Regions from separate parts of the Homo sapiens genome. Here all the other regions are linked to region 1. The links are contacts of gene promoters, found by promoter capture Hi-C in blood cells and fetal thymus (Javierre and others, 2016). All regions are on one chromosome and are shown on one strand. Each heading gives the region's core, a stretch centred on a gene start or on the middle of the fragment in contact. The rest is flanking DNA. Distances are from core to core; before and after follow the strand shown.

Region 1 (5,136 bases), core at 1,601-4,100:
CATGTTTTTTGTTGAGCCTCAAAGCCTTAAACTCTGGATATCTTACCTTTTTTAAAATTTCTTGGAGACCTGTTAACTCTGTAAAAGCAACTTAACTGTGGAAAGAAAATGAAATATAATTAATCCTTGAACCCTGTAATTTATCTTAAACAACGCCAGAGTAGGATATCCATTTCAGAATTACCTATCAAAAGTGAAGCAGAATAAGGAACCACAATTACGGGTGTTACAAAATGGTCTTTTGTTCCAAGGGGAAATTAATCATCCTTCTGCAAAAAGGAGATACAATATCCAAATAGACATATAAAAATTATTTAAAAATTTGAAACTTGCCGAAAATTTAACAACTGCTCTTGATTGGAAGTAGCACGAAGAAAGGAGTGATGGAAATGTTACATATTTTGAATGCAGCAGTAGTTACATGGGTGTATAAATTTATCAAGGTTTACTGAATTCTATCCTTAGGGTCTATACATTTTGCTGTACACAAGTTTTACATCTACTTCAAAAAACTGTTCTACAAGTAAAATCTCAATACCCAAAGTTCAAAAAAAAAAAAAAAAAAAAAAGAACTTCAATCATTTTGCCACATGAAAATCCAAAAATCTAGTACATATTTATATCCAACTCTCGTGCTGTTCTCCTCCCTTTCAAAACATAAGACCAAATCAAATTAAGGCAACCATTCAAAATTACACAATAAATGAATAAAACAGCAAAGCCTGAAATTCAAAAATCAATTTTTAAAACAATAAATCCAAACCTATGGGCTATTGTTTGGATACAATTTAAAGGTCTATATAAACAGCTCATACATCCAAGCACAGAACCAAATTTCATGAAGCCAGTATAATTAAGGCAAATACTACAATATCCCTAAAGTTAAAAATCTCAATACCACTCCTATTGCAAAAATAGTAACTGTTACAATTCATCTCAAGCCAAACAGAAAATGCTATTTATCTTATTAATAATGCCAATAGCAGATTTCCATTTCAAACAACTATTCTGCACTCTACTAAGGAAACCCAAATGATGATGTAGAAAAGTAAAATTAAAAATTAACTTGGAATACTGGGATTACCCGTTTACTGAAAAATCTCAATGTAATTTTTTAAAGAAGTTTGCGTTTAATACTTTCAGGGATACCCAAACTATTTCATGAAGACTTGCCAAATAAATAATTATAATTTACACTCACTTTCTTTGGTGGGGGAGACAGGGTCTCTCTTGCTCTGCTACCCAGGCTGGAGTGCACTGGTGCGATCTTGGCTCACTACAGCCTCGACTTACCCAGGCTCAGGCAATGCTCCCACCTCAGCCTCCCCAGTAGCTGGGACTACAGGTGTGCACCACCACACCCGGCTAATTTTTGTATTTTTTGTAGAGCCAGGGTTTCACCATGTTGCCCAGGCTGGTAGGGAACTCATGGGCTCAAGCAATCAGCTCACCTCAGCCTCCCACAGTGCTAGGATTTACAGGTATGAGCCACTGCGCCTGGAGTAATTTACATGTCTTTAATGTACAAATAAATGTTGCGTTAATCCAGAATCCAGTACTTACACTTAAGTACCACTGTTCCCCAAAGTGGGGGTCTGAAGATACATTCACTGAGGTCTGTTTTCCTTTAAAAAAGGGTACGTAGATTAACCAGAAGCTAAACTAGCAAAGACATCAAATTACTTCACACATTCTACATCTGAAAAATATTAATCAGGTTTGCTATTAAAGTATTTGCACAGTAACAAAAAAAGAAAAAAAGCCTATTTTCTTCAACAAACCAATATCCATACTAACACTTCAACAAAAACTACAAATGGCTTCTGGAATACTTACTTTATCCATATTAAAGTCCCAAGACTCCCTCCTATGCAAATTGGCTTAGCTACTCTTTTTAAGATATTTTAGAAAGCACCATAAGCTATACATATTCTTGTCTCTCCTAAGCTTTTAAAAAAATTTTAACGGGATTTACCCTGGGAACATAAATTCATCTACAAGAGAAATTAGAGACGTTTCAAGGAATAATTATATCTCAAATTCAAAAAAACTCTAGTAATTTATCCTACCTCACTTAAAAACTATCTTTTAACCAAGTAGTTTCATGAGCACAAATCTCATGAATTCCAATTCAAGCAGACTATTTAGAAAGTTTATTCTCATTTGCCACAGTTAAACAAAACTAATGCTTAAACTTCTCTACCCTTGAGACAGTAGGGTAATGTACCATTTATGCCTCTACAATAACACACCTTGGAGACCAACTGTAAGAGACCAGCTCTCAAAATGGGCACTTCTGTGGTTCCAACATGCTATATTTCCTTAAGCAAATTCTCCAGAAATTCAACTCTTAACACACTAAATTACACAAAAGCAAAACACGAAAATTACCCTCAAGTAGTCTGCAATTAAAATTTTGCGTTTTTCTAGTTATGAATGCAAAAAGTATTTTTGTGCCTTTGTGTTCATTTGAAGACAATAATCTGTTAAAATTTCTATGAAAAGAAGAGTGGGTCCCTAAAAGATCACTTAAGTCAGTGAAATTTAAAGCGCATTTTAAATAACTGCTATTTTTATCCAACGATTCATCCCACTTAATCACCATTATAACTAAACAATACGTAACGTGCCTCTTCTAATCAAGACTTAAGGGGATACAGAGAGGGAAACGGGAGGGAGACAGAATTTAAATAAGTAATATCTCATCAGATCCATTTGATTTTTAACTAGCGAAGAAAAAGTCATTTTCCAGATATGGTGAGGGAGAGAATTTTTTTTAACTCTGCGACTACTTCGTAAAGCCCAAGGTCATGATGTAGCATATTCACACTCTAAACGTGAGTTTCCCCTGCAGAAAATAATCTACACCAACCCATAATTATTCTTTACGATGATCCACCTTTTATAATGTAGATGTTTAAAATAAAAACCAAAGGAATGACCAATGAGAGCCACAGTCCCTAGGAAGAACTGTAAATGAAGACGAATCCACATGGCACAGGATTTCTCCCAACATCCTCAAACGGGAATCATCCGAAGGCATCGATTCTACAGCCCAAAGCCTTTGTCCACAACTCCCAGGGGTCAGAGCTTCCTTCTTTCGCGCCAGGCCAAAGTTGCTACGTGGGATCCGATGTTGTCGCCAGACTTTCAGCCAAAATCAGCCTTCAAATTAACCTGGACCGCCCAACCTCCGTGCCTTTCCGTTACGCCGTCTCAAGGGCAAACATTCCACCCTAACTCGCCAGAGGGTGAACTGCCCCCAGATCTAACTGAAAACACTTGCCCTTCTCAAGCCTAACGAGCTGGGCCTGCAGCGCTTTTCTGCCACCACTGACTACGATGACATAGCAAAGAAAAAAATATACCTATGAAATCCTTCGAGATCTTCACTCTCAAGATCCCTGGGAAGCGCACATACACCACCACATGGAAGCTGACGGGAAAGGAAGAGTCGGTGTTTTAGCAAGAAAAGAGGGTGCCCTAACGGCAGGAGCTACGCTAGATACTGGCGCGGCCGCCGGTCCCGCCTTTCCCCGTTCTTCCGGCTTGGTCGCCCAGCCCTCCCCACCCCCGGCGCCCCGAGGGGAACTGCTTCGCACTTGGCAATAAACACACACCACTGCTGCCGAGTCGGACACACAAGGCCGGAGGCTGAGGGAACTCTTCGTCGCAGCAGCCTCCCCAAAACAGGTAGACCCTCAGTGAGCCCAGAAGAAGATGGCGCCCACTGCCCCTCCGGTCCGGACAAACGGACGTACGGTTTATCTGCCCATGCGCTCTGCAGGCGCAACCCACCACCAAGCTTGCGCACGCGCGCTGCCGCTCACCCGTTTCCCCTCGCTAGAGGAGGGGAGGCGGAGCCCCGGGGTTGGCTGAGCTTCTGCGCATGCCCAGATTCTGCCCAGCCCAGGGACCTCGACTTTCAACGGGAGAAATTCAGAGACACATTCAGGGCTCAGCCGGTAGATGTGCTGAGAATCTTCGGTAGACAACTGTCGAAGTACGGCGGACAAACTTTAAAGATTTCCAGAAGTTAAGGAAAGAGATGCAAAAGCAGAGAAAAGGCGACTTGTCTTTTCAGTGTTGCATTACTGTGTGGCGTAAAACATCTTCTAAAAAGCTCCTGTGGCCGGGCACGGTGGCTCACGTCTGTAATCCCAGCACTTTGGGAGGCCGAAGCGGGCGAATCACTTGAGGTCAGTAGTTCGAGACCAGCCCGCCCAAAAAGCGAAACCCCCGTCTCTACTAAAAATACAAAAAAGTCAGCCTGGCATGGTGGCGGGCGCCTGTAATCCCAGCTACTCGGGAGGCTGAGGCAGGAGAATCGCTTGAACCCGAGAGATGGAGGCTGTAGTGAGCCGAGATCGCACCGCTGCACTCCAGCCAGGTCAAAAGAGTGAAACTCCATCTCAAAACAAAAATAAAAAAGCTCCTGTAGACCCTAGAATACCACAGAAAAGGTAATTTTACTGCCTTAGATGTTCGCCAAGTACAATCCCAACACCTGGGGGCTTAATAAATGCATGCTTAGTCGGTTTTATAGATATAAATAACCTTGTGAAGTGTCTTTATAAATTTGTTCCCATCTTCTGGATTTTTGAAACAAGAGAACAGATGAGCCAGTACTGAAATTTCAGTAATGGAAAAGCACTATTACAGGTGTACTCTGTGATGCCTGCTACGTAATAGCTGGTGAACAACCTTGTGTTTGGTTTTATCATTTGCAAATAACAAAGTTTCCCACCACGTTGTATAGCTACTTGATGTATTTGTGGATGGATTCAAAGCTCATTAAGCAGAAAGTACATTTTAAAAACATTGTTACAGATGACAGAAAAAGTGAGTTGTGGATCCCTTTCTCACTGCAAAATACCCATTCTTTAATGATATGATTATAAGAAAGAAGAGGTAGTTTAATAAGTAAATAAAAAGATAGTTAACACAAAATCAGAGCCATCTTTTACTCACTGGACAAATTATTTAGCCCCTCTGTGCCTCAGTTTCTTCATCTGTAAAATGGGGATACTCCTAGTACCTACCTCTTAGGGTTGTGGGAAACATTCAGTAAATATGTATGTCTCAGATATATGTAAATAAGTGAGACTATTATAAGTATTTGTGACTTGTTTGAAA
Region 2 (5,136 bases), core at 1,299-3,798, 2.7 Mb before region 1:
TCCCCAAGCCAAGATACTCATGGAACTAAGCCTGGGCACGATTTCTCATTGGCCTACATAGAGAGGATCCTTTTTGCAACTGGACTTATCAGAGGACGTACCTTTTATCTAGTTCACAGAAGATGCTCTATATCCTAGTTGCACTTCTGATTGTCTGCCTAAATAAGTCTCTATTTTAATATTTTGATTAATTTGCATTTGGACAAAACTATAAGACTATGAGCAGTGCTCTAATCTGTAAGATCATGACCTATATTTACAGATTAATGACAAATGTCCAGTGACTTACCAGGAATGTGTTTCCACAGTGCCCACACACGACCCTTGTACCTTCTGGTTGGATTGGCAATGCAGGCTGAGCTGGTTGTTCTTCAGAAATAAGCATTACTGGGCCAAGGTTAATTATCCGTCTACTGTGAAAAGAGAAAGGAAACAACTTCACTATCCCACAAATGGACTGAGAGCAAAACCTGCAACATATGGCCAAAAATATGAAATGTGCTATACTTGTTTCATAAATTAAGTGAATTAAATGTCAAGCTGGAGGCAAAACTACAAAGAGTAGCAACAGTCAGTTTTTCAAAAGCAAAATATGAGTCTGTACTTGGGATAGAAACAATATATTATAGCATTGGTCCTAATCAATGGCAACCATTTAACTGTCATTTCCAAGTTTTTGTAAGTTCAAATCAGAAAACAGTTGTTACCCTTCCTTATCTAGGAAGCCAACTTGAGTTTGGTAGAAGACTAAGTTAAAAATATTCTATACCAACAAAAATCTCTGTGCCATGAAGGCACCGAAGGGCTGGGTTACAACCAAATTTCTCTGAGCAGTGTGATATTCCTTGATGCGTATTTAATCAGAGATGAAAAGAAAGCAAACAGGATCCTGCTTTCATTTCTATTCTCTAGTCTATCATTGGATAGGGCTGTACATGATTCATGTAATGGTCAAAAAGCTAGAGAGATCACAGAAAAAAAACACAAGTAAGGCCTTTATATACTTGTATCTGGGGACATCCATAATGGTACTGGGCATGAGCGAATAATTCCAGAATTTATTGCACATATACATTCAGCAGAGATTAGTATAATATACAGTGAGATACACAAAAATAACTAAAACACTTGCAGGTGAAGATTAATTATATCAAAAGTAAACTAAGTGATTACTTTTTTTTTTTTAAGAGATGGGCCAGGCATGGTGGCTCATGCCTGTAATCCCAGCACTTTGGGATCACTTGAACCCAGGAGTTCAAGACAGCCCGGGCAATATGGTGAAACCCTGTCTCTACAAAAAAAAAAAAAAAAAAAAAAAAAAAAATATATTACCTGGGAGTGGTGGTGTGTGCTTGTAGTCCCAGCTACTCAGGAGGAGGCTATAGTGGGAAGGCTTTCAGGGCAGAAGGTAGAGGTCACAGTGAGCCAACTCTTTTGAGACTCTTCCCGTTGAGACTCTGTCTCAAAAAAAAAAAAAAAGAGAGAGACTAACAGATGGGGTCTCACTCTGTTGCCCAGGCTGGAGTGCAGAGGCACAGTCATAGCTCATTGAAGGCTTTAATCCCTAGGCCCAAATGATACTCCTGCCTCAGTCTCCCAAGTAACTGGGAATATAGGTGCATGCTGTCACACCTGGCTAATTTTTTGTAGAGATGGGGTCTCACTATGTTGCTCAGTTTGGTCTCAAACTACCAGCTTCAGGCAATCCTCCCACCTCAGCCTCCCAAATTGCTAGGAATACAGGCATGAACCACTGGCCTGACCTCATTATTTTTAAATACGTTCAATGTGTCATTGATTTATTACAGTGCATTAAGTACTTACATAACACAAAGAAAACATTCATTGCTCATTTAAGAATATTATATCCTACAAATATCTATGACTAAGTTCAAACTAAGCTTATCATTCCTTTAACAAAAAAATAATCTAGATTCTGGAATGACTTTGAAAACAAAAACTCTTTCTAGAACAAAGCCTGGCACTGAAGAACCTTTAGTAAATACTTGTTGAATGAACAAATGAATGAATCAATGAATTAATCTTTATCTCTTACCAGTTGGGTCTTGGGCATCCTATTCGCCGAGATGTGTCCTTACAAATGAGAAGACAATTACAAGGGCATCTAACATATTTCTTGCCTGTTGGGGGGTTTTTGATTGGCTGGATAAGGGAAGAAAATGCAAACACAGCAATTAACCAAAGTACAGATTGTCAAAGTTTGTTTGTGTTTAAAAAGGAAAGGATTCCATTAAAACTAATGAAATATATTGCTTTTGTAACTTAAGGTTTTATTTTATGATTTTTCTATAAAACATATGAAGTCAAGTATTCATGTTTTGTGGTCCTTCAAGACACAATAATCACTGGCTGACTTTTTTTAGTCTTTTCTAAAGAGAAAAAAATAAAACATCAAAGATAAAATTAATATTTAATTGCAGATTTTGAGAGATCAAAATGTAATATATAAAGCCTAACTATGAAAGAAATATATTTCATCTAAACCAGTGTATGCTTTACCAGTTTATTACTTGAAGCTATAAAAATACTGCTGAAAATTTAGTTGCTCCCCAAAGCTCAATTTTTAAAAAAGGAAAGGTGTTATTCAATATTTTAAACATTCCTAAATTACTATCAACTAAATTGAATAAAATGTCAAACTATTTGTAAACACTTTGGCACAGATGCTAATAATAAATGCATAATCACAAAAGCCCAGAAAAACAATAGTGACATCCTACAGACATAAAATAACTTCAAATAATTTTCCACATAAATAGGGCAAAGTTTACATCTGTAATGAAGTTTAGTACACAATATTTTCATTTTAATGAAAACAAGAATGAATGTAGTTGTGATGTGGATAGATATTGAAAGTATTTATACGTAACTGCCATGCTCAGTCTAGTTTTTGAAAGTAAAAAGCCAAAAGGCATTATATTTAAATTCACCATGAAATTCTCTTAATGGGGTTAGCTTTAAACACAGTGAGGTATCCTATGATGAAAGAGAGACAGAAGAAAAGACAGGAAAAAAGATTACCATATTTGTATCCAGCCCACATATACTTTTAAGTAACATTATTGAAGTACTTCCTTTAGGAATAAAATGTCAAATAACAATTTATATTTTTTCTAATGGAAATCTCCACTTACCGTAGCTTCATTGCAAACTGTGCACTTAACCACATGCTGGTGAAGCTTGCCATCCAAATTGATTAGTGATTGGCACACACGGCAGTTTATTACTGGAATACCACTGGCGTCTGGACTGGCAATGGCTGTATATGGAGGTGGGAGCTCCGCTGAAAAGATATTAGTCACTGAATCAGAGTCTTGGAGAAATTACTATGGCTGGTTTGAGTATAGAGGCAATATAAGTAAAGAAGAAACAATCAAGATTTTCCCACGTTCTTTTATTTATTTTTCAAAGCTAGCCAATTTATCTTACTTTTAGAGCACAAACATCCATGAGACTCTTATCAAGTAAAATAATTCTTAACTCTGATAAAATCTAAATCATGTTTGCCTAGGTCTATCCCAATAACCCAGTTTCCTTTTACTAATCTATACTCAAAATGTCACTCCATTCCTATTAGTAAATTCATACAGTCTCTAACAGGAGAGTGGTAATTTATGCCTACAATAAAAATTTTACACAAGTGATCTGATTCCCAGGAAATAAAAATGGTCGATGAAAGCAAAGTTTTAAAATTGCTTATCCATACATATAAATTATGTAGCTGTCATGCTCTGTCTTTATATTGGAACCAGTATAATGACTGCTGGCTATGACAAGAATAAAACAAGGTGTTGGAGGAAGTCAAGAAGAAACAAAAATGAACCTAAGAAAACTAAACTTCTCAGCATGGAACAAAAATGGGAACCATGCTAATTTCAGACACAAAACAAAAATAAAGTAAATATAACAATTTTTAGTCTCAAAATTTACCTACCATTAAAAATGTAAGAAATGCACCAAAGTGTTTATGAGTAAAAAAATGTAGTATGTGGGATTAAAAACTTCAAAAACCATAACAACAACCACCACAAAAAGAATGGGGAACCAGATGAAACAAGTAGCAAAATGTTGATAACTGATGAATATAATGACATGGAAGGTCATAGTTTCACACTACTTTTGTGTATGTTTGAAAATTCCCATAATACAAAGACACACACACAGTGTTTTTTTTGAGAGTCCTAAGGTTGACTCAGTGAGTGAGTGAAGGGTGGAGGCCCACTTTCAAAATCAAGTATCTACCAGAAGTGTATATTTGTTACAAAAGTCTGAGAAAAGGAATCCTGATATACTACTCTGGAATGGGATTTCTAAAGGAGACTGCCTAACCCCTTTCTGTAACTATCTCAACTACAGGAATAGAAGACTTTTCCAAGGTAAAGTTTTGTCTTGGGACATTTAGAAAGGGCCACACTCTAACATATGATTGAAGCACGAAAGAGAACTGGTATCTCAAGAGGCTTCTGTAACACTATAAAATATAATCACAATAGCTAAGCATAATAAGAGCTATTTTTGAAATAAAGGTTTTCTATCCACTGTATTAGGTCCTAAACTTTGTGATATTTTAAAAAGAATTAGAGCATAAAACATTTTGGTATGTTTAAAATACACATATTTCTACCTGATCCTTGGGTTATAATATAGGATTTTTTTCAGACTGCTAAGGATTAGCAACAAGTGGTATTCGTTCAAATGATTCATAAGACAAATTTCTGCAGCAGCCAAGGCTCTGAAAGAGGCCACTTTGAAATGACGATATGCTTATGTTTCTGGGAGGCTTATAACAGAACACTGCCAAACACTGAAATTCAAAAGAAGCTGTACATGTCTTAAATTATAAAAATAATTTTAAATCCATGAAAAGAATTTGAGCGTGATCCAGAGTGACCTGTAATGTATTAATCAAGAAGAAAAAAACATGTTAAAGAAACAATGAGTCAACAATATACTTAAGGTCTTGCAATTTGCAGATTACTTTGTCAGATCTCAATAAAGACATTATTCTTGGGGAAAGAATATGTACCTCACTAGAAATTCAAGACACACTGCCTGGTATATGATAATGAATATTATTTTAATAATTATTTGCAGTAGCATTATTAACAAAAGTTG
Region 3 (5,136 bases), core at 1,602-4,101, 2.7 Mb before region 1:
CAAGCAGGAGAGAAGCAATTTCCTATGCATGAATCCAATACTGACAGTAGAGAACACTAGACATGCTCCACTTAGAAACCAACATGGATTGTTACACAGACCACACATGATTTTTCTTGTGCTAAAACCAAACACACAATACTAACTGCTCCCTGCTACATTATTAATAATCTGTCTAGAAATAAACACTCCACCGACTTTCAACCTGAAATGGACTATTTCATCTTGGAGGTGGGAACTAACATTCCTGTACTTTAGAAGGTAAAAGAAAGAGAAAGGGGTCAGATTGGAGAAAATATTCACTAGTTATAGCTTTTAACTTCTTTTTTTAAAAAAATAAAAGTCTGAATAATTGTAAATGGGATCATTAACTAAAATTCATTATCAGAAAGTGCATTCTGTTTCTGATTGAATTCCAACTGTCAACCCTAACGGTTTTCAACTACCAAAAACATCTGATCTAGTGATAGAATTTTTTTTACAATCTGAAATAATTCAGCCATGTATTTATTTATTCTTTCTCCCTAATACAATATAGTCTTCATGAGGGTATGGGATTGATCACTCTTGTTCCCCTAGAGCAGTGTATGGCACATTGTGCTTCCCAATAAATTAATAAATGAATGAATAGTGGTGGTCTTCCAGATCTTGTGTATTACTCATAATATTTATTACAATGTTTGTTACTTATGAAGAAAAATATTCTGTCAAAATGCAAATAAAATGCTTTTACCTCTCATTTATGCTTCTTCCTTAGTAGGTGTTATGTCATATGAAATTAAGAGTTTCTCTAATCATCTAACCTGTCTCATTCACCAATTAAGAAAAAATGTATTCTACCATAAGGCAGAAGCAGCTTTTTGCTAAGTCATTGAATTTCTCTGGTTGTTAAAAGTTTTCTACAATGACACTACTTTTTCTCAGTGGCTGAACTGGAACTTATACTTGTGTAGTTTGAGGAATCTTATTAGGTTAAACAAATATATGGAAAATAATAAAGATGTCTATAAGCTGATCCCTGAGTGTAGCCATTTTTAAAAAATAACTTATCCACTAGTTGAGGGCATGAAAATAGGTTATAGGACAAATACTTAAATTGAAACTTTGTCTCCTAATAAACCGCCAAACATTTTGCCATAAAAGGCTGACTTGATGAAGTTGAAACATTCATTAGTGAGTGTTTAAGTCTATTCTACATAATACGATTTAGATAACAGTAAAATATTCATATCAAATTGGCCCATTAGAGGAAATTCTCTTGCCTGGTGTCCTCTGATACAAGTTTAATGCTGACCAACAAAAATGACCTGTAGGTTTTCTGTGGGCAAGTCTCTCTCTGTGCCTTATTTCTCAAGCCATGGCTCACACTGAATTATTTACAGCTAAGCATCTTTTTCCTTTGTTTTTCTTCTTGTTAAGTATGGATTAAGATCTAGATAGTTTATTTTGAAGTTACAAAATGTTAAATAGAAATTTTAAATACTAAGCAAGTTCAACCTGCTCTACATCAGCTCTAATTCCAGACTTGAACTTAAAAACTTGTATTACAAGAAACATTACCTACTTATATTTTCAAAATCATTAACTTTTGCTTCCTTGGGTTTTTAAACTTTGCTCATATTTAGCCAAAAAAAGAGAGAGATGCACTTAAGGAACATTTGCAAGTGCCATTTTGACCAATCTTTTCACTAACCTAAGTGGGTTTTTTTAAGTCTTGCCTTCCATTTTCTTGTAACGCCTGACTCCACCTTATTTATTTACTATAGTAATCAACTAAAAGGCTTAGAACAACGATCGATTTTTAAATAAATCGAATAGTATGGTAAATAGATTCCATATTTCTCCAGATCCCATTGCATTTAATCTTTTTTTATTCTTCTTGAGAAAAAAATAGAAATATATGTATTATTAATTTGGGTTACTTTTTACAAGTTAATTTCAATCTCACCCAGATATGTGTTAAAAATATCCCATCTTCCCTTCTATGAGAAGTAAGGTCCTTCCTTCTCATTCACAATTAAATCTAACACATACTCCTTGAAAGTAGGAGTAAAAAGGAGGGGCAGGAATTTCAGACATATTAGGAATATTGATTAACTGTATTCATTTTGGATATGGCAATTCACTGAGTGAACAGAGCACTGTTGGGTGAATGGTAGCAGAAGCATATTGTTCAAGCTAAAGCCCTTTCAAGGACAGATGCCAAGGTGAGCAATACTCCTGGTTTCTCAGCAACGGAAAAAGATTTGTGAATGATTGTGAAAGATTTGCACCACCTCCTAGCTGCGCTTAGGGGCTGTTCTGAAAACAGCTAAGCAGAGCTTGGGAAATTCATGTCACATACTGTAGCCCTGGGTAAGAAGTGGTGAAATACACACACACACCATCACCACCACCACCACCACCACCATCACCACCACCACCACCACCACCATCACCACCACCACCAGAAAAACCCTGCGGAGAAGCTATCAGGCAGGCGGGCTTGCCTGGGAAGGCACAGTCAGCATCCTTCCTCAGCCCAAGCGAGAGGCTCACCTCCACCTCCAAGCTAGAGCTCCCAGGTCTTTATCCTTCTGGGCGTTTCCTTGCAAATCTACTTCCTTGCAAAGTAGAGGGATCTACGCTGGCCTTACCTCTGGGGCTGCTTTCTTGCAAGTACGGTGGGGCGGTGGGAGTGACATTTCCGGAGTGGGATGCTGACAGCAGAGGCGAGCGTTCGTCCACCCCATCAGCAGCCATGACTGCGGCAGCGGCGGGGCCTGGGGAGGCCGAGCCGGGGTTGCGGCCTCGGCGGAGTGGTGGCTACTGCTGCTGCCTCTGCTGCCGCTGCTGCCGCTGCAGCTGCTGCTGCTGCCGCCTCCGGGAGGGCCCGGGATGTGTCACAAGGCAGGAAGCGGGGGGAGGGGAGGGGAGGGTGCAGGACCAGGAGGCGGGGGAAGGGAAGCGCGCTGGGAGGCATGGCTGGGGGAGGGGAGGGGAGGGAGAAAGAAAGAACCCGCAGAGTGGGAGGAGCAGCAGTGGAGGAGCGGGAGCCCAGCCAGCCAGAGAAAAGGGGAACAAATTAGGACCAACTGGGAAACGCGAGGAAAAGAAGATGCCAAGTAACTGAAAGGGGGTCGAGAGTAAATGGGATGGAGGGGGACAAGTCCTTTGCTCTAGGAAAGACGGATAAAAAGCAGCCTGAAAGGGGCTAGCGAAGAGGAAAGGCCTGTGACTTGATTACAAGAAAACTGGAGCAAAAGCAGATTATCAAGTTTATCTCCCCTAAGGAGGAGGAGGGACTGACTCTTTGCTGTCAAACTTTGCAGCAGTTATATAAAGAAAACATCTTCCTGGGGTTATCAATTCCTCTAGGGTTTTTTTGTGGGAAATCAGTTTTCAACATCTGTTATCTAAGAGAAAGTAGATCTTTGCGGAAGTGTCAGCATTCCCTACTTTTCCTGATTGATTTTTTTTAACAACAGGAATGTTGGCCTGACCGGTTTGGAACTCTGGTAACAGTACCTTTTTGGAACTATGCAGTGTGTTGCCTTTTACAAGTTTCATTTTACAAAATAGGTTGTCATCTTAGTTTTGGTTTTGTAGCCTATTGTCCCTGACACATATACAGTAAGTAGGTTTATGAATAACGTCAAACAACGAAAAACAAGTTTCTTGAGACAAAAGTTTTAAAATAATCGTTTACTTGTAAAACAGAGTTAAAACACAAAAAACCCTAAGCACTGACAAAGATTCTTTGCTTGGTCAAACAAGTAAGGTTTCTGAATCTTATGCTGGGCCCATCTGCACTTCCTTATAAAATCCAGTTTTAGCAAAGAACCCTACTAACTTAATTTAGCAAGAAGCCCCATTCTCAATATTGATATTTGATCAGGTTCCTCATCCTCCAGCATCCCCCATGTGAGGCCTGAACTCCTGTTCTGTCTTCAGCAAGAATCCCGTTTGCTTGGTTTAGTCAGAATCCCCCTTATCCCTGATATTTCCTTGGTAATTTTCCATCTACTGCCCCTGTCCTGCATGCTCCTAGGCTATAAATTCCCACTTGTCCATGCTGCATTCAGAATTGAGCCTAATCTCTTCTTCAACATGGCAAGACCCTGCTGCCATGGTCCCTATACCTATCACTATAGCCCTAAATACAGTCTTCCTTACCATGCTTTGACAAGAATCACTGAATAACTTTTTTCTTTAAAAACACAGTTCTTGCCATGTTTTATATGTTTTTCTTTTCTTTTTTATTTGGTGGTTTGTCATATTATCCAAAAGTAGTTTACATGAATATGAAAACAAATTAAAGTTTTGAGGCCAGGCGTGGTGGCTCACGCCTGTAATCCCAGCACTTTGGGAGTCCAAGGCAGGCAGATCACCTGAGGTCAGGAGTTCGAGATCAGCCTAACCAACATGGAGAAACCCCATCTCTACTAAAAATACAAAATTAGCGAGGCGTGCTGGCGCATGCCTGTAATCCCAGCTACTCGGGAGGCCGAGGCAGGAGAATCACTTGAATCCGGGAGGCAGAGGTAGAGGTGAGCTGAGATCGTGCCGTTGCACTCCAGCCTGGGCAACAAGAGTGAAACTCCGTCTCAAAAAAAAAAAAATAAATAAAGTTTTGAACATGTCTAAATAAAAATGCAATAGAAAAATAGTAATGATCTAGGATGATAATTTTTCTGCAATAATTTTTGAGTCACTCAAAAGAAACATTTATTACTCATTTACTAAGTCTAAAAGATAACTACGACATGATCTCAATCCTCAAGATGCCTGAGAGAGTCAAAAACAAGTGGAAAATGAGGCTAGCTGTAGATTTCAGTGAGCATGAGGCAAAGCAGAAGTTAGACATACGAAACTATGTTTCAAATTACATTAGGAAGGATCCTCACTCTGCTTTCTAAAGATACATTCTTTCTTCCAGAAAAATCCACTTAGGCATCAGCTGGAAATCCTAAGGGGAAATCAAATAATGATGTTTGCACTCACGCAGCATCTTTTGTGGATCAGTAGCATCAGGATACAATACAATATAAGGATCCCTATATGATATAAGGGCATTTCTAGGTCTCCAGGAACCTGGAAAGTACAGAATCAAGATGTAGCACTTCCTGCAAAAGTGCCTGTAATTTACAAAAATGA
Region 4 (5,136 bases), core at 1,962-4,461, 2.7 Mb before region 1:
AACTGTTTATTATCTAAAATCATAAAATTGGTAGGGAAATGAAATCACTTAGTTATGCTCATGCATCACTTCTCATTAATGTTTTTGTGACCAAGTTTACAGGGCAGTGTGTTTCTATAAGGGAGATCGGCAAAGAAAGTGCTATACTTCTTTACCTATTTACTTGCCCAAAAGATGAAGCTTCACCAAATCAAAGTTGGAAGACCAGGCATCTGATCCCAGAATTGCGACTGAATGGGATTGTAACCTGAGCAAGGTTACTTAATCTTTCTGAGCTCAAATTTTCCCACATATATAATACGATACAAATATTTCTACACTCTAAGCACAGGTTTTTGTAAGAATCAAGAAAGTGAACGTGAAGTCATTTTTGTTATAAAAGTGCTTTATTAACAAGTTGTAATGAATGAAATTTTACTGATGTTTCTTGGGTAAGTTGGAGCATCCTAACTTTCATAATTTTAACTAATATTTATTTTATCGTTGGATCTAATATATATGTGTCAAATACTTTGGTTTATATGTATTATCTCATTTAACCTCAGTAACACACTGTGAGGTATTACCTATGAAGTAAGTATACATAATCCCATTTTTCAAGTGGGAAACAGGGTTAGAGAGATTAAGAACTTTGTCCAGGAGTCGTAACAGCTGTTGATTGCCAAAGCCAGAATTCCAAATGAGAACTATCTTACTCCAGGAAGTGAATACTGAATTCTGTTACAGCTTTGTATAGTGTGGTATTTATTGTATGGGTTTTGGATATGAAGGGTCATATAGACCCCACAACCTCACTCCATCTTTGATAGAAAGTTCTTATGTCTATGTAAAATCTTAATCTGCCATACTTAAATTTTGGTTGATTTTTGGTTTGCTGTTGACAAGTACAGCTTGTCTGTGCTTTTTATAATGGTCCTTACATTAAATATAGTCTAAATTTCTTTAACTTTGTTAGTTATCAAGTTCCCAACTTTCCTTGCCTTTAATGTACTTCATCTCCAGGTAACAAGGCATATATGATACTCCAGGCGTTAAATTGTGTTGTGACAATTGTGTTCCTAATTGTCTCCCCATCTTTTCTATTAATGAGATAGTTTTGTTTGCTCCCTCAGACCTTTCCATTTTGAGGTTTCTTTCCCAGGTTTCCAAGGACAAAAATGTTTGATTCATAAGCTACATGGAGTCCTACTGTTAAAACACAAACTCCCATTTTAGTTTGAACTATTTATCTGTTTCATTAATTTAAATTGGTTTTCTTTTCTGAATACTACCAAAAACTAATGCCATTGCTTTTTTGTTTTTCAGATGCATCTCTTTTATCTTGCCTATTGTCAATATAGATGTTTGTAAATTTTAACAGCTTCCTCTGAAGAATCACAGGACTCCTAATTTCACTATAGTTGATAGCCACTCTTTGAAGTCTCTATCTGATTTTGATATTTTGATCATTTGGGACACAGCCTTTGCAGACTTCTGTCTCTGTGTATTAAAGGCCTTGAGTTGTTCTATGCATGTGTTATACTAAAAACTGGCTTACCTTAGAGTTGCAGTAATAATGGCTACTCATCCTTATAGTTAAAAGTCTAGCATCTTTTTTTTTACTCTAGCAAACACACACTAGCCATTTAGGATTGATTATAATATCAAATGATATTACAAATTAAATATATTTTCTGCCTGCAGTTATCAGTTTGTAGATGGAAAAGGGTAGGGTAGGAAAAGCTCAACTTGCTACTAGGGTCAAGGATTAGTACTCATCAGGTTCTGGCTAATTAAGATGGAAAAAGGCCTCTGCTGCCAGTAGAGGTTATGCAGGTAATAATGAACTGAGCCAGCACAGGACCTTTATCTTATATGTACTGGCAGTAGTCAGAGAAAAGAAGAGTGGAGTGCTAAATGAGTTGGCGCTTACAGGAAGTACAGTACTGCATTTAGATTAATGGAGTAGGCATTCTAAGAAGGAAGGAAAGCATGCAGGGATGAGCATGATCTTTGAAAGAAACTTCTTGGGAACTTGTCAAATTCTTCCATAAAAATAGAAACAGGAGACAAAACCATATTATCTAATACAGTGTCTATTGCTGTTACTCAAATTTGAAATGTGGGATTAGATATATTTATGATTTTCAGTAATTTAATAAGTACATTGACTTGTTAATGCTTTTTGTTTCCTTCAGATAGATTCTGTTGCTGTTAACATTTCAAACTTGGTGCTTGAGAATCAGCCACCTCGGATATCAAAAGCACAAAAGAGACGGGTATGAAAGTCATGTCACCAAGTATATAAGTTAGTGCTGTGTGTTCAATACTATCTTAGGTACTATCTTAGGTCTTGTTATAGGAAGAGAATGAAAAAAAAATGATGCAGTTCCTTGTCTAGGCACTTGAACTAACATTTATTAAGCACCTGCTGTGTGTCACATACTATGCTAAGCTGCTTATATGACATCTCATTTAGTCCTGACAATAATCCTGTGAAGTAGGATTTCTTATCCCCATTTTATGGAGAAGAAAATGATCCTAAGATAATATAAAATAACGTATTCAGGTTGCAGCTCTCATAGGAGAGCGAAGCTGGGAGTGGGAGTGCAAAGTAGTTTTTTTTACAAATATATTATCCCAGACTTAAAAATTCAGAATGTGGGCCCAGGGGATTCTGATGCACAACCCTAGCCAAGAACTATACCATTGGGTGAGAAATAAGGATTTGAACCTAGAAGTTAACATGTGTAGGTATACAAAATTCTTAGAGAATTATGTAGGTATCTATATAATGGTTAATTATGAAAATTTAGAGAAGGGAAAGTTCATTATGCTAATAATGGGTTGGAATTTGAAAGAAATATTATTTAGATAGGATATTCCAAATAGGAGGAGCAGCATGCACAAAAACAAATGTGGGGGTGATATATTGCATTATTGAAGAGCTATAAGGAAACTGATTTATTGGAAGTAGCTAGTTCATATCAGCATTATGGAAATGAGATTAGATAGGTAAGTCCCTTTGAATTTGAAAAAGAAAAATGATTAAATTCAGTCTTTTTAGTTGCGAGTATTATTTTATTAACACTTGATGTTTTCTATGGTTTAAATGCATATTTTTAAATTCATTTTGCATCTTATGACATAGTATGTAATTTAGTAGAGCATGGAGTTTAGTGTCAAACAGATGAGGTTTTAATTTCATTTACTGTTATACTTTGGGTACGGTTCTTCTTTAAGCCTCAGTTTCACATCTATAAAACGGGGGCAAATTATAGCTACTTCATAAGCTAATTCATTGTGAATATTAAATACTGTACTATTTCCAAAGCCTTTAACACAAGGCCTGGAGAACTAATGGGTCAACAAATGATAGTATTGTTTCTATATTAAGTAGTGTATAGTATGCCTCTTAAAAATGTAACCTAAAAGCAATGTCTTTTTCTGTGTTAAGTAGTGCATACTATGCCTCTTAAAAAATTAAACCTAAAAGCAATGTCTTTTTTTGTTTGCAAGCTGATGAAATGCACATAGTCCAACATTTCTCATTCTTGTGTAGAATTTTATTTTTGAGTAAATATAATTGTGAATTTTGTAGATTCATAAAATTTAGATCTCATGGAATCTTGGAGATTGTCTGCTTAGGATATGCATTCTTTTGTGATGATCTCACAATTGTCTAGCTTCTATAGATCAAAAAGGAAGGGCAGAATTTTTGCATGCCAGTAGCATAACAAAACATTGGAATTACGTCTACTTAGTAATTGAAACATCTTATAATAGCCTATTTAATTCTGGAAAACCTAAGGGCACAAGTTCTTCCTATCTTTATCAAAACTTGTTCCTCCCCAGCTGGACCTCTAACAACAAAACAAACAAAACGAAAACTCCCTTACCTTTCTCAAAAATTTTGTTACTTTTTCCCTAAGATACTGCACAACTGGAATTAATACTTTTGTCAGTTATACTCTCAAACCATTTAGTATCTTTTATAGTCAGCTGCTTTAACACTTGGTAGAAAAAATGCCCAAGTAATGTTTTTACAGGGTTATATTAATGGGATTTTAGAACAGAAAACATTAAACGTTTATAATGCTTAAGAAAATGGAACCTGAAGTCAGGATGCACAATCGGGTGTTAGATTATTTGGAACCTCCTTTTTGCTAGAAGCACCAAGGAATGCAAAGTCATTTAATTAATGATGTTTATCTTTGGGAAGGATACAACTCTGGAAGAAAAACGTGATAAAACTTTGTCAAGATTTATTTTAAGAATATCGTGGAATATTGTAGAGCATATCTCTTATTTTTAGTCTAGAAAAACAGTATTTTATTCAAAGAACTTACAAACTTTTTGATATGAGAGAAAGAGTCTAAAATAGAACTTAGAAGAGCTGGGTTTCAAAAATATGGAATTTGAGGGCTGGAATGAGATTGAATTCAATTTCTGTATTTTCCAATGAGAAAGCAGAGACCCAAGTTATCTCAATTGTACACTAAAAGTTTGATACAAACCCAGGACTGGTGTCCAGCTCTTAATATTCCCTTTGAATCTTCTTTGTTATATTACTATATCAACATGACTGTAGTTTTATTGACAATATATTTATGATTTACATGCTATTTTCATCTTTTATACGTTTTTATTAGAACTTATTAGTGCCATTCTATCTCCACTACTATAGCTGTAGAAACCAAAGTGCCTAGTGCTCTTGGGAAACTATATATTGCTGGAAAAAGAATTCAGTGGATTTCTTACCTAGTGCCCTGAAAAGGAAACTCAATTGCTTTGTTCTAATGAAGCAAAGCATGAAGGGAAAAAAATGAAATGATTAGAATTAGTATTTTAGAGGCTTAAACAGTTTTGCAGATAAGATAAAGTGCCACTCTTTCAGTAAATAGTACATGACATCATTAACTCCAGCTCCCATCTGCTCCAACTTTTATTCTGATTCAGGTGCCTGGATAGAAGGAGCTCTCTGTGTTGTCCTTGGTCCCTGCTCTGCTCTTACCAGCTGTATGGCCTTTGGAAATCTTTCTGCGTGCTGTTTCCTCAGAAGAGGAAAATGAGGGGTTTTGGATTAGATGATATCTAAGGTGCTTATTCTTCCTTTCCCCTCTGAAACTTTTTTAGTCTTTTATAAAGTAATAGTGC
Region 5 (5,136 bases), core at 1,343-3,842, 2.5 Mb after region 1:
ATTACAATGATAGCTCTATATTCCTCCATAAAGACGGAAAGTAACGACTTCTTAAATGAAAATGTATCCTATGTTCTTTTGTAATGATTAACTCCAGTGCCTTATTATTTATTTTATAAGATTTTAGTTGGACAATTGTTCAGTGCAATTCTTTCAGTAAAACTTAAAAGATATGTCTTAAAGTTTGTTTTGCAAAGACTAGTTGTCTAAGAGAACGAGGAGATAGGATTCTTTTGGGATGTCATATAACCAGTATGTGAGAAACAGTACTTGGGTACTGTCACATGCTTCAGAGATCCAGCAAGAATTTAAAATTACAGAGGATTAGATACCTTGCACTGAAGTCTGAGACAAGTTTGGATTTGTCAAGTAGTTCTTTTGTTAGATGGCCCTTAGGTCAATTCCCTGTTAAACCATAGTATTTAAATATCTCCTGTCTTTATCACCATCATTAAAAATAAAGTTAGATACTACCTAATCATTTTCCTATTTGAAAAAGCTCATTTCCAGCCTGGACAACATGGTGTAACCCTATCTCTACAAACAAACAAAACAAAACAAAACAAAACAAAACAAAACAAAAATTAGCTGGGCGTGGTGGCATGCACCTGGAGGCTGAAGTAAGACGATCACCTGAGCCTAGGAGGCAGAGGTTGCAGTGAGCTGAATCACGCCACCATACTCCAGCCTCCACCCTACTCACTCGACAGAATGAGACCCTGTCTCAAAAGAAAACCAAAAACTTATTTTCCCACATTTTAGAATAAGTAGGCTGGGTGCAATGGCTTACGCCGGTAATCCTAGCACTTTGGGAAGCCAAGGTGGGAGGATTGCTTGAGGCCAAGAGTCCAAGACCAACCTGGCTAACATAGCAAGACCCCATCTCTATTAAAAAATAAATAGTATTTTTATAAATAAATGCTTACGCATATGTCTTAGAAGTTTGTTAGCAAAGTAGGGCAAGGAAAACTTTTGTCTCAAGCTCAGAGTATAATAATTACCTATAAGATACCCTCATATTTACTCTGCATTCAGGGGTTGGTAAACTTGGAAATATTGAATGCCTTTAGTTTAAAAAACTCAAGCTTTAGATTTAGAAAACACCAGAATCTATTAATTCACATTCAAAGAAGCCCACCTCTCCTTAAGAGGCACCTGCCATTAAACAGTAGAATCAGCCTTTGTTAGCACTTGTCCAACAAAAATTGTTACTTACCTAGAAGACGTTGCCTTTCTGCGGATTTGTGTACTTAAGTGATCATCAATTTGTCTATGCTTCATTTCTCCTCGATTTAGAACTAAGGAGACAGGCAAGGACAGGGAAATGGACAGACTGATTGATTGACTGATTGATTTGTTAATAATGGTTTTTACTTAATTTCCCTTATTGGCTTTGGAACTCCAGTTCACCGTCATATCATTGGGGCATACTTGTGGCCACCTGTATTATATTGCTTATGGATACTTGCTAGCATTCCCTGTTCTTTCCCTCTTGACCACATAAATTCCCATTAGAAAATGTCCCCTGATACTGCTGATTCAGTTGTCTTTATCCTGTTTCCTTTATATACATCATGTTCCTTCTCTCCCAGCAACAAAAGCCCTGCATGCCCTTGTTGGCTGACACTAGCAATGTTAAATGCTCATCTATAGTGATTATGGGCTAGGATTAAACCAGCCCTGGAGGTGAACATTGTGTTAGGTTGCACCTGAGGTCCAGTTATCAATGATTGTTAACATTTCTTTTCCCTGGTTACCATTTGAATCAAATTTTTTATTGAACTTAATGTTTTACATTTTTTCTTATACTGATTTCCAGAGTTTTATGTCCATAATACGATTTCTAATTTGTTAAAGGGGGAAATGTGCCATATATTTCTCTGGGGTCTACTGCAGTGAATGGGCACTTGGGTGACTTAAATATTTATTTGGCTTAGATGATGCCTCAGCCCACAGAGATTATATACCTAGGAACTGCTGCCTTTCAGACTCCTCTTTAGTAAGCAACCTTAATTCAAGTTCATCTGTTCTGAATAAACTGTGTTTAGCATTTTAGATGTAGTTCTATTACCAGATGTAACACAATTTATCTTGTGACATAATTCCTATTGCCCCAGATTTCTGTAGAGAAGTTACAGTTTTTCAGTCTTAACTAATCCCAGAACGAGGACTAGTCCGGTCAGCCTGCACTGCTTCCTCAGCCCTGGCATCCCATTTAATTCAATTAATTCAATTCAACAGTTCATAGTCCTCATTGCCTCTAGCCCAGGTTTCTCCCAACCTGGAGTTCACCATCTCATTTATCTTCAGCAGGTCTGATTGGGCCTTTATAGCTTTCGGGACTGTTCTCTTTCCGTTCCCAAGCCTTTGCTCAGCAAACTCCCAACCCTTTGGGATAGCTGACTCTCAGGCCCTGGCTTCCCCTCCCTCCAGTGCTGCCCCTGTGATCTTTTTAGACAAAATCATGGTCCCATCTTTCCCTGTTTAAAATTCTCGTTTATCTAATAAATACTTTAAAACATATCACCTTTCTCCTGCTTTACTTGATAACTTAGCTGTAATTCTTCACAAGGATTGTGACTTTCCATAAAACGAAATTAGTATGGTATGAAAGATAACACCAAAGCTGGTTGACATCGGTATTTCAGTAGATGCCTGTCACCTATAGGAAAGTACTAGCTGGACTCCAGCGTCCTTTGTAATGGAGTAAGTCTACTTTCCCACCTCTATCCCTCCCTCCATACACAGCACACCCAACACCCAACACCCAGCAGGCCCCGGCAGCTCACGTGTCCCATACCTAGGCAGGGCTGCCATCTCTCAGACTGGAAGGCACCTCCCGCCACCTCCTGCCCACACATGACACCACCCTTGGCATCCTTCACAATCCATTTGGATGGTTCCCTTCCAAGATACCTTTCTCAATTGTTCCAAGAAGCACAGAGGAAGAAATGTTTATATCCTTCCAAATACTTGTTATTATTGTATCTAACATGTCATAATATTAGTTTCTGTATCAGCTTCTTGAGGCCAGTTATCTGAGTCATCCCAGGATAGACATCCAGTAAATGCTGAATGAATGGAATGCATGAAATCATTTATTCAATAAGAACTTAAAATTTATCACCATTCTTTTCCTTTAGTTGATGTCTCACCCATAATTCTTAACAAGGATCATAACTTTCTATAAAATAGATGAATGTGGTATTAAAGATAATACCTAAGCTACTTAACATTGGTCTACCATGTAACCTGGGATTAAACTTTTTATTGGGAGAGATGATCCTTAAACAGTGACTCATCTAAACATGAACCTATAGGTCTTTATTTAAGGACTCATATTAAAAGTAATGAGGGAGAAGATGGGAGGGGGAGAGGGACAATTAACCTAGAAGCCTTAGGAATCATAATAAAGGTTAGATATTCCTGGCTGCCTGACCCCAGGGAGAAAGACTTGTCTAAAAGATTGTAGGCAAGTGAATGGACTTTGCTTTGGTTTCCTGAAGTTACCACCCCTCTGGTCAAATTCCTGTACTCAAATATTAAATTGAGACAGAATCGGAGTCAGAGTCCAGAAATTCTTTGGAGTGCAAACTTTTTTTTTTTTTTTTTTTAAACTCAGGGCTTTCCTGATACTTCCTGCTGTTAAGACTTTGTCTCTTTGGGTAGTTCCCTATCCTAGCTGAAACAATGCTCTGCAGAAGAAGCCAAGGTGTTTGAAAACTTGATTGGGATTTTAGATATTTGCTGATGGTCTCAATAGCCCTCTGTAGCCAACACTCTGCAAGGGGAGAGGGAAGTCGCTGCCAGTGGACCCTGTGGGTCAGGCTGAGACTCCCCCCTCACGTTACCTGAGTCACTGGCCTACTCTGTCATATCATCTTGCTCATTCTTGCCACCTACTATGGCAGGTGGATGCCTGCTGTGTGTCAGGGCATTGTGCCAGGCACTAGAGCTACCTTGGGGAAATGAGGTGGGACTTGTGCCCTGGGGAGCTTTCTTATTTTAATCTGTACATTTGGTATTTTCACAATATGTGGTCAGTGCTATGCTGGAGCACCTCCTAAGTTTAGCAGAGAGCGAGGAAGACTTTGCCTCCCTAAGCTTGTCTGTTTGTGTCCTTATTGGAGAATGCATAATAGCAATCTTGACCTACAGCCAGCATTCCAGAAGCCCTCATACCTACTTCCACTCTGCCTCTATTTGTGTGTGACTGTGGGCAAGATAAACCAAGAGCTTAATTTTCCTCATCCTTCAAACAAAGATAATATTGGCTCTGCCTTCCCCCACAGAACTGTGGAACTGTTAAATAAAACACCAGCTGTGAAAGTTCTTTGGAGTGTTCAGGGCACTGCAGACTGGGGCATTTTGTTGTTAGTAGCTGCAGTAGACCCAGGAAAGAAGTCAAGGCGGTGTCACAGCATCACAATGGAAAGCTTTAAGTCTTCATATTTGTTGTTGCTGTGAACAAGCAACATGTCTTAGTTGAGCAAGTACCCTTAGGCCAGGAAGAGTCAAGATGAGGATTGGGCAGCCCAGACCACAAGTCATGATCTTTCCTGAGAAGCAGGAACCACACTGCAGCCTCACAAAGCCGTAGGAGACAATTACAATCCCACCAAGGGGCCAATCACAGGTGAATACCCAGGCTTTTTTGAGGTTTGTCAGAGACAGTTCCTACATATGAAAAACATTTCCTTCAGGGCAAGGCTATACTAAGATAATGTCTCATTGTCCTTTTTTATCTTGATCCACTCAAGAATAAGGGCCATGTCTCTTTATCTCAGACCTCAAAGAGTCCCTACCCAATGATAGGCATTAACTAGAAGAAGGAATGAGTGGACGTAAATGAAGGGCATTCAAACGTTGTGAACTCATGATAGTAACGGACACTTTCTCTGTGCCAGGCACTGTTTTAAGTGCTTTACATGTTTTAAGTTATTTAATCCTCACACAACCCTATGAGGTAGAACTATTACCATCCTCTGTTTACTGAGGAGGAAACTGGGGCACTGAGAGGTTAAGTAATCTGCCCAAGGTCACACAGGCTGGTGGTCTGGCCCCAGCCTGTACCAGTCACTGCACTGTATGGTCTCCTGTAGGGGAAATAGCTTGTACTTTGGGGCCAGACCCTAT
Region 6 (5,136 bases), core at 919-3,418, 2.5 Mb after region 1:
GATCGCGCCACTGCACTCCAGCCTGGGCAACAGAGTAAGACTCCATCTCAAAAAAAAAAAAAAAGGCAAATCCTCAAGCCTCACCCCAAAACTACTTAATCAGCAACTTTGAGAGCAGAACCCAGAAATCTGTCTTAACAAGCCCTCTAGATGATTCTGATATCTACCAAGTTTGAGAACCAATGTTAGAGATTAAGATGTTATTATATAAAAATGTATAAGATTTCATAATCTGTAACACCTCTCTCTCTCCCTTTTTTAAAATTTGCACTCCTCCCCTTAACTAGAATCAAAATGAAATGAATCTGACCTCTGGGAGAGCAACTAGGGAAAGTATGTCTTACCTGCCTCAAAGTAAAACTCCTAAAAACTAGAGTAAGCGGCAGCAACTTTAGAAAGGAGTCAGAAGCAGGCAAGGCTCTACAGCCAGCTACAGAAAGAAGAGACAAATGGGAGATCCGGCCAGACTTGAGCTACAGCCCTGAAGCCTGAGAGACCTGTGAGGTTCCCCGATGAGGCTCAGAGGAAGCCCTTTCAATATTATGCCTGCCTCAAGCTCTCCTCTTGGCTGTTACAGATATAATGTGAACACGGGATGCGTTCACATAACCCCTAGGCCTCTTTCCCTATATTCAAGTGGAAACAGTAACAGATCAGTTGGAAAGGACACTATGAAAAGCAATTGTTGAAAACCAAAGTACTATGAGAAGAGTGACTAAAAAAAGCACAGGGTGTACCTCAACATGGGTTTGGCTTGCTTTTGGAACAGAACATCTCCCTTCTCAGTCTCTGCTATTCTGCCCTTGTTCTGATAACTAAATTCCCATGATCACAATATTATGGATAACGAAGATGTAAGAGGTTTTAGATAGATTTTTTTTTAGAAGTATGACTCCTATGCAGTGATTCTTGGCTTAAAAAACTATCACCCGGCCGGGCGCGGTGGCTCACACCTGTAATCCCAGCACTTTGGGAGGCCAAGGTGGGCGGATCACGAAGTCAAGAGTTTGAGACCATCCTGGCCAACATGGTGAAACCTCGTCTCTACTAAAAACACAAAAATTAGCTGGGCATGGTGGCAGGCGCTTGTAGTCCCAGCTACTCAGGAGGCTGAGTCAGAAGAATCACTTGAACCCGGGAGGCGGCGGTTGCACTGAGCCGAGATCACGCCACTGCACTCCAGCCTGGCGACAGAGCCAGACTCCATCGCAAAAAAAAACAAAAAAAACAAAAAACAAAAAAAAACTATCACCCAACAACAGACAAAACCACAAATGGTTCTGGTGCTCCTAAACGATTACTAATTTCCTAAATATAATAACACTTCAAAGCATTTATTTAGCTTATGAGCAGATATTATACGTTTACTTCTCCAGTGGACCAAAGTTACTCCATCATTAGAGAGTTGTGTACTCTTTCAAGTCCAAAAGCTACTGCTCAGATTGCGGTGTTTCTCCCTTCTTTTTTTATGGATGTGGTGGTGTGGGGGGAGAGTTGTTGGCCACCAGGGGCTACTTTGCCATTGGCACAAAAATTTCATCCTATTAATGACATATTAAATTCTTCGGAGTTAAAAAAAGTGCCCCTAGCCTGAGAATTATTGGTTCCCTCTAATCCTAAGGTGGACTTCAACTTTGCCTTCACAGAAAGTCACAGAGGAAGGGGAGAGTGAAGGTTTCGGGGGATCCTGAATATAACCTCTTTCCTTAGCCTAGTGATTTCTTCACATTCATTACCCTAAAACTGCTTTTGTTATCCTTTACCTTCCAAGATCTCTTCTTTGAAATGACTAAATTGATCATAGTTATTAAGTTATACTTCTTTCCCCATTTTTAATTAATCGTAAGTCAGATCTGCCAACCAGGAATATTATCTACATGAGAAAATTAGTTCCATGCCACTGAGATTTAAACACCAGCCAAAAATGTAAAGTCTATATCAGCCCATTCACAGCCTTACTGTCCGTTAATGTATTTTTTCATTAATAAGCTTTTTATTTTTCTGTTTTTATTCCCCAATAATTCCACCTAGACTCTAGGAATCTGAGAATCCCAATTTGGAAGCCACAATTCTACAACAGAGCTTCTCTGAGGCAAGGGTTTGGGGTGCCTAAAATCTGTGTTTTTAAGTGATTTTGATGCATCTGGTCAGCTTATAATTTCTTCTATTTGGAAAGCTCCTCTCCATCTTTTAAACACCACTCCCTCTTCTACAGACAATTCAAATGTACTTCTAGCAGATCCTAGTAAAGGGCTTGGGTTTTTAAACTGGACTGTTGGAGTTCTAATCGTGGTTCTGCCCCAACCTTGTTACTTGGGTAACCTTGGACAGGTTACTTAAATCTCTTTAAGCTTAAGTTCTTTATGTGTAAAATAGGGGTAATAATAGCATCTACCTCATATGGTTGTTGTGAGAATTAACTGTGTTAATACAAATAAAGCAATAAAGATAGAGCTGGCACACAGTAAGTACTCAATTGCTGTTATTACTTCTATAATTCTCCTACCGCTTCTAAATCACTGTAGGAGCTCTGGTTAGGACTCTACCATCATATAAAGCAATTCTATTTTTAAACCTGTCTTCCACACTCGATTATAAGTTCCACAAGAACAGAGATCATGTCTGCTTGACTTTTGTATCCTCAGTGCCCAATGTGTAGCACTGATGGATGCTCAGTGATATACTGGAAAAATGAATTACCCACCAACCCAGGGAAAAACAAATTGTCATTTCTTTTTCGTTGAAGATTATTTCACAATTACTCCATGAGCCAAATTCACAAAACTGTAGGCTTCTAACACTTCTATAATGGGTATATTTACGTTTGGTAAAATAGGAAAATCCTATATTAGAGGCCCGTTCCTAGTGAAGTATAATAGGCAAATAAATATAGCTGTATGTGAAGGAACTGGACCTAATGCAGTCTAGTTCTGAGAGTTGTATTAAGGTCATATTTCTTTTACCCATCTTTTTTCAAAAACAGGAACATGTGTTCTAGCAAATGGAGTAGAGGGATCACTTAAATAAAAATTCAGTTTGTCATTTATCCAATAAATACTGAGTGGCTATTTGCATAGGAAATAGGAAAAAAGGATTACTTTGATAAAATCCAATCATTCATTTGTTCAACAAATATTAATTGTGTGCCTACTTAGTGCCAGGTGTAGTTCTAGGCACTGAGGATTTGGCAGTGTATAAATCAGACAAAGTTTCTGCTTTTAAAGAGTCAATATTCAAGATTAATATTCTTGTGAACAGCAGATAATATCACTCACTAGGTAAAGAATATGGAAGCTTGATTAGCTTAGAAAATATAATTACGGCTTTGGCATGATGGCAAACTGGATCACTTTTATATTGGGATGGGGATCATTACAATATGGCTTATTGATTCATGAATTTAAATAAACTGTGACTAAAAAGTACACGTAGCAGTGAAAGGACCTTTAAGGGAAGTGATCTATTCCAAAGTAAAGTAGAGAAAAACATGAGAGAGAAGAGAGACTACATTAGATTTGTTGGCCTGATTCCAACAATCAGAACTAGGACTAGGTAGAAACTCCAGGGAAAGAGACTAATCACTGATTTCTCCTCAGGAGATGGACATTTGCGCCCTGCAAATTGTAAACTCTTCCCAGCGTACAGAACTATGCAGCTGGAGAGCAGCTCCAAATGAAGCGCAATGGCAGCGCTTACAGAGAGAGCTGTGAGTGGCATTACCTGTGGGAACTTGACAATGATGTGGTGGGGAATGCTCATCACATTGTGCACAAAATCAAACGTCTCGGTAAGTTTCATTTTATTTGCAGTTAACATCTTTGGGATTCTGGTGATCATATGTTGAATTTCGTTATGTTTAAAACCAAGTTCAAGACGATAAACCTAAAAGAAAGTAAATTTGCTATGAATCGTTATGTAGAAATAGTTATTTTGGTACCATGGCAAGGCTGCACTGATTTTTTTTTTTTTTGAGATGGAGCTCGCTATGTTGCCCAGGATGGAGTGCAGTGGCATGATCTCCTGCCTCAGTCTCCCAAGTAACTGGAACTACAGAGGAATGCCACCACACCTGGCTAATTCTTGTATTTTTAGTACAGCCAGGGTTTCACCATGTTGGCCAGGCTGATCTTGAACTCCTGACCTCAAGTGATCCACCCACCTTGGCCTCCCGAAGTGCTTACAGGTGTGAGCCACCGCGCCTGGCCATGATTTTTTTTTTTGAGACGGAGTCTCGCTTTGTCATCCAGGCTGGAGTGCGGTGGCACGATCTCAGCTTACTGCAACCTCCGTTTCTTGGATTCAAGTGATTCTCCTGCCTCAGCCTTCTAAGTAGCTGGGATTACAGGTGCCCACCACCATGCCTGGCTAATTTTTGTATTTTTAGTAGAGATGAGGTTTCACCATGTTGGCCAGGCTGGTCTCAAACTCCTGACCTCAAGTGATCTGCCCACCTCGGCCTCCCATGCCAGGGTTACAGGCATGAGCCACCACGCCTGACCATGATTCTTTTAAACTTAAAATAACATTTTAAAATTTGGAGACAGCTATGCCAGTGCCTTCAAGGAATTACAGCTTCCGGCTCCTGGGGTCACCAGAATTTCAAACCCCTCTGCTGAGAAAGAGCTACACCATGATGGTCATGAAGCTCACCAAAGGGGCAACCATAATTACAAGAGGGAATGAGTGACATGGGAGCGCTGCAGGTCAGAGGCATGGGCCCAACACCAAACAGATCCTTCAGCAGCAGGATCTTCAAAATGCTTTTTGAGCTTTTGCTCCCAAGTACACCCACATATGTGTTGTCTGAAAAACGACATGTCAACATTCCAAGCAGAGATGAGGAACTAAACAACCAAACACAGGCCGGGTCCTCTACTTGCTTTCATAGTGTCCTGTGTGCCCCCACCAAGTAACTGCCCCCATCACTCTGGATTTGATCCCCCACTAGATTGTAAGCTCCTTGGGAGGAGAAGCTGTCTCCTCAGCATGGCGCTTGGGCAGGAGCTCAATAAAAAGATTTCTTCAATGACTGAACTGTTCACCTCAGAAAACAGCCCTTATATAATATTTCAAATACTACTACAGCTTTATATACTAACTAGTCAGCTGCTCTTGGCTTTATCTTATTCTCTTGGA

The links. The method cuts DNA at HindIII sites, captures the fragments that hold promoters and counts their contacts. A CHiCAGO score of 5 or more calls a contact.
Region 2: a fragment that was not itself captured here is called in contact with the fragment with the promoter of RBM12B-AS1 in region 1 in 1 of 17 cell types (erythroblasts); the score reaches 6.4 in erythroblasts.
Region 3: a contact is called between the fragment with the promoter of PIP4P2 here and the fragment with the promoter of RBM12B-AS1 in region 1, in 1 of 17 cell types (M0 macrophages). The highest score is 12.1, in M0 macrophages.
Region 4: a contact is called between a fragment that was not itself captured here and the fragment with the promoter of RBM12B-AS1 in region 1, in 1 of 17 cell types (fetal thymus). The highest score is 7.8, in fetal thymus.
Region 5: a contact is called between a fragment that was not itself captured here and the fragment with the promoter of RBM12B-AS1 in region 1, in 1 of 17 cell types (naive B cells). The highest score is 7.6, in naive B cells.
Region 6: a contact is called between a fragment that was not itself captured here and the fragment with the promoter of RBM12B-AS1 in region 1, in 1 of 17 cell types (naive CD8 T cells). The highest score is 6.7, in naive CD8 T cells.

What each region holds. Positions count from the first base shown.
Region 1 is chr8:93,737,261-93,742,396 of GRCh38, forward strand. It overlaps RBM12B-AS1 (RBM12B antisense RNA 1), which reads left to right and starts at 2,851. Exons shown (of 1, transcript NR_027259.1): 1 at 2,851-3,559. It overlaps RBM12B (RNA binding motif protein 12B), which reads right to left and starts at 3,749. Exons shown (of 4, transcript NM_001377960.1): 1 at 3,621-3,749; 2 at 3,369-3,436; 3 at 47-95. It overlaps RBM12B-DT (RBM12B divergent transcript), which reads left to right and starts at 3,823. Exons shown (of 2, transcript NR_183450.1): 1 at 3,823-4,199. RefSeq lists an enhancer at 3,656-3,775. The HindIII fragment of the contact is 1,858 bases long and covers 1,946-3,803 here.
Region 2 is chr8:91,018,101-91,023,236 of GRCh38, forward strand. It overlaps PIP4P2 (phosphatidylinositol-4,5-bisphosphate 4-phosphatase 2), which reads right to left. Exons shown (of 7, transcript NM_018710.3): 2 at 3,156-3,304; 3 at 2,057-2,163; 4 at 290-413. Among named protein-coding and RNA genes, the nearest start is that of PIP4P2, 20 kb to the right of the region's middle. The HindIII fragment of the contact is 1,299 bases long and covers 1,900-3,198 here.
Region 3 is chr8:91,038,008-91,043,143 of GRCh38, forward strand. It overlaps PIP4P2 (phosphatidylinositol-4,5-bisphosphate 4-phosphatase 2), which reads right to left and starts at 2,852. Exons shown (of 7, transcript NM_018710.3): 1 at 2,637-2,852. The coding sequence starts at 2,742. RefSeq lists a silencer at 2,874-3,073. The HindIII fragment of the contact is 15,293 bases long and covers 1-5,136 here.
Region 4 is chr8:91,071,654-91,076,789 of GRCh38, forward strand. It overlaps OTUD6B (OTU deubiquitinase 6B), which reads left to right. Exons shown (of 7, transcript NM_016023.5): 3 at 2,178-2,258. Among named protein-coding and RNA genes, the nearest start is that of OTUD6B, 3.9 kb to the left of the region's middle. The HindIII fragment of the contact is 6,066 bases long and covers 179-5,136 here.
Region 5 is chr8:96,265,040-96,270,175 of GRCh38, forward strand. The region is part of intron 1 of PTDSS1 (phosphatidylserine synthase 1); the gene reads left to right. LOC105375652 (a long non-coding RNA gene) reads right to left here. Exons shown (of 3, transcript XR_928431.3): 2 at 1,217-1,298. Among named protein-coding and RNA genes, the nearest start is that of PTDSS1, 5.7 kb to the left of the region's middle. RefSeq lists a silencer at 3,362-3,656. The HindIII fragment of the contact is 3,019 bases long and covers 1,084-4,102 here.
Region 6 is chr8:96,240,199-96,245,334 of GRCh38, forward strand. MTERF3 (mitochondrial transcription termination factor 3) reads right to left here. Exons shown (of 8, transcript NM_015942.5): 7 at 3,721-3,882. Among named protein-coding and RNA genes, the nearest start is that of UQCRB, 7.2 kb to the left of the region's middle. The HindIII fragment of the contact is 362 bases long and covers 1,988-2,349 here.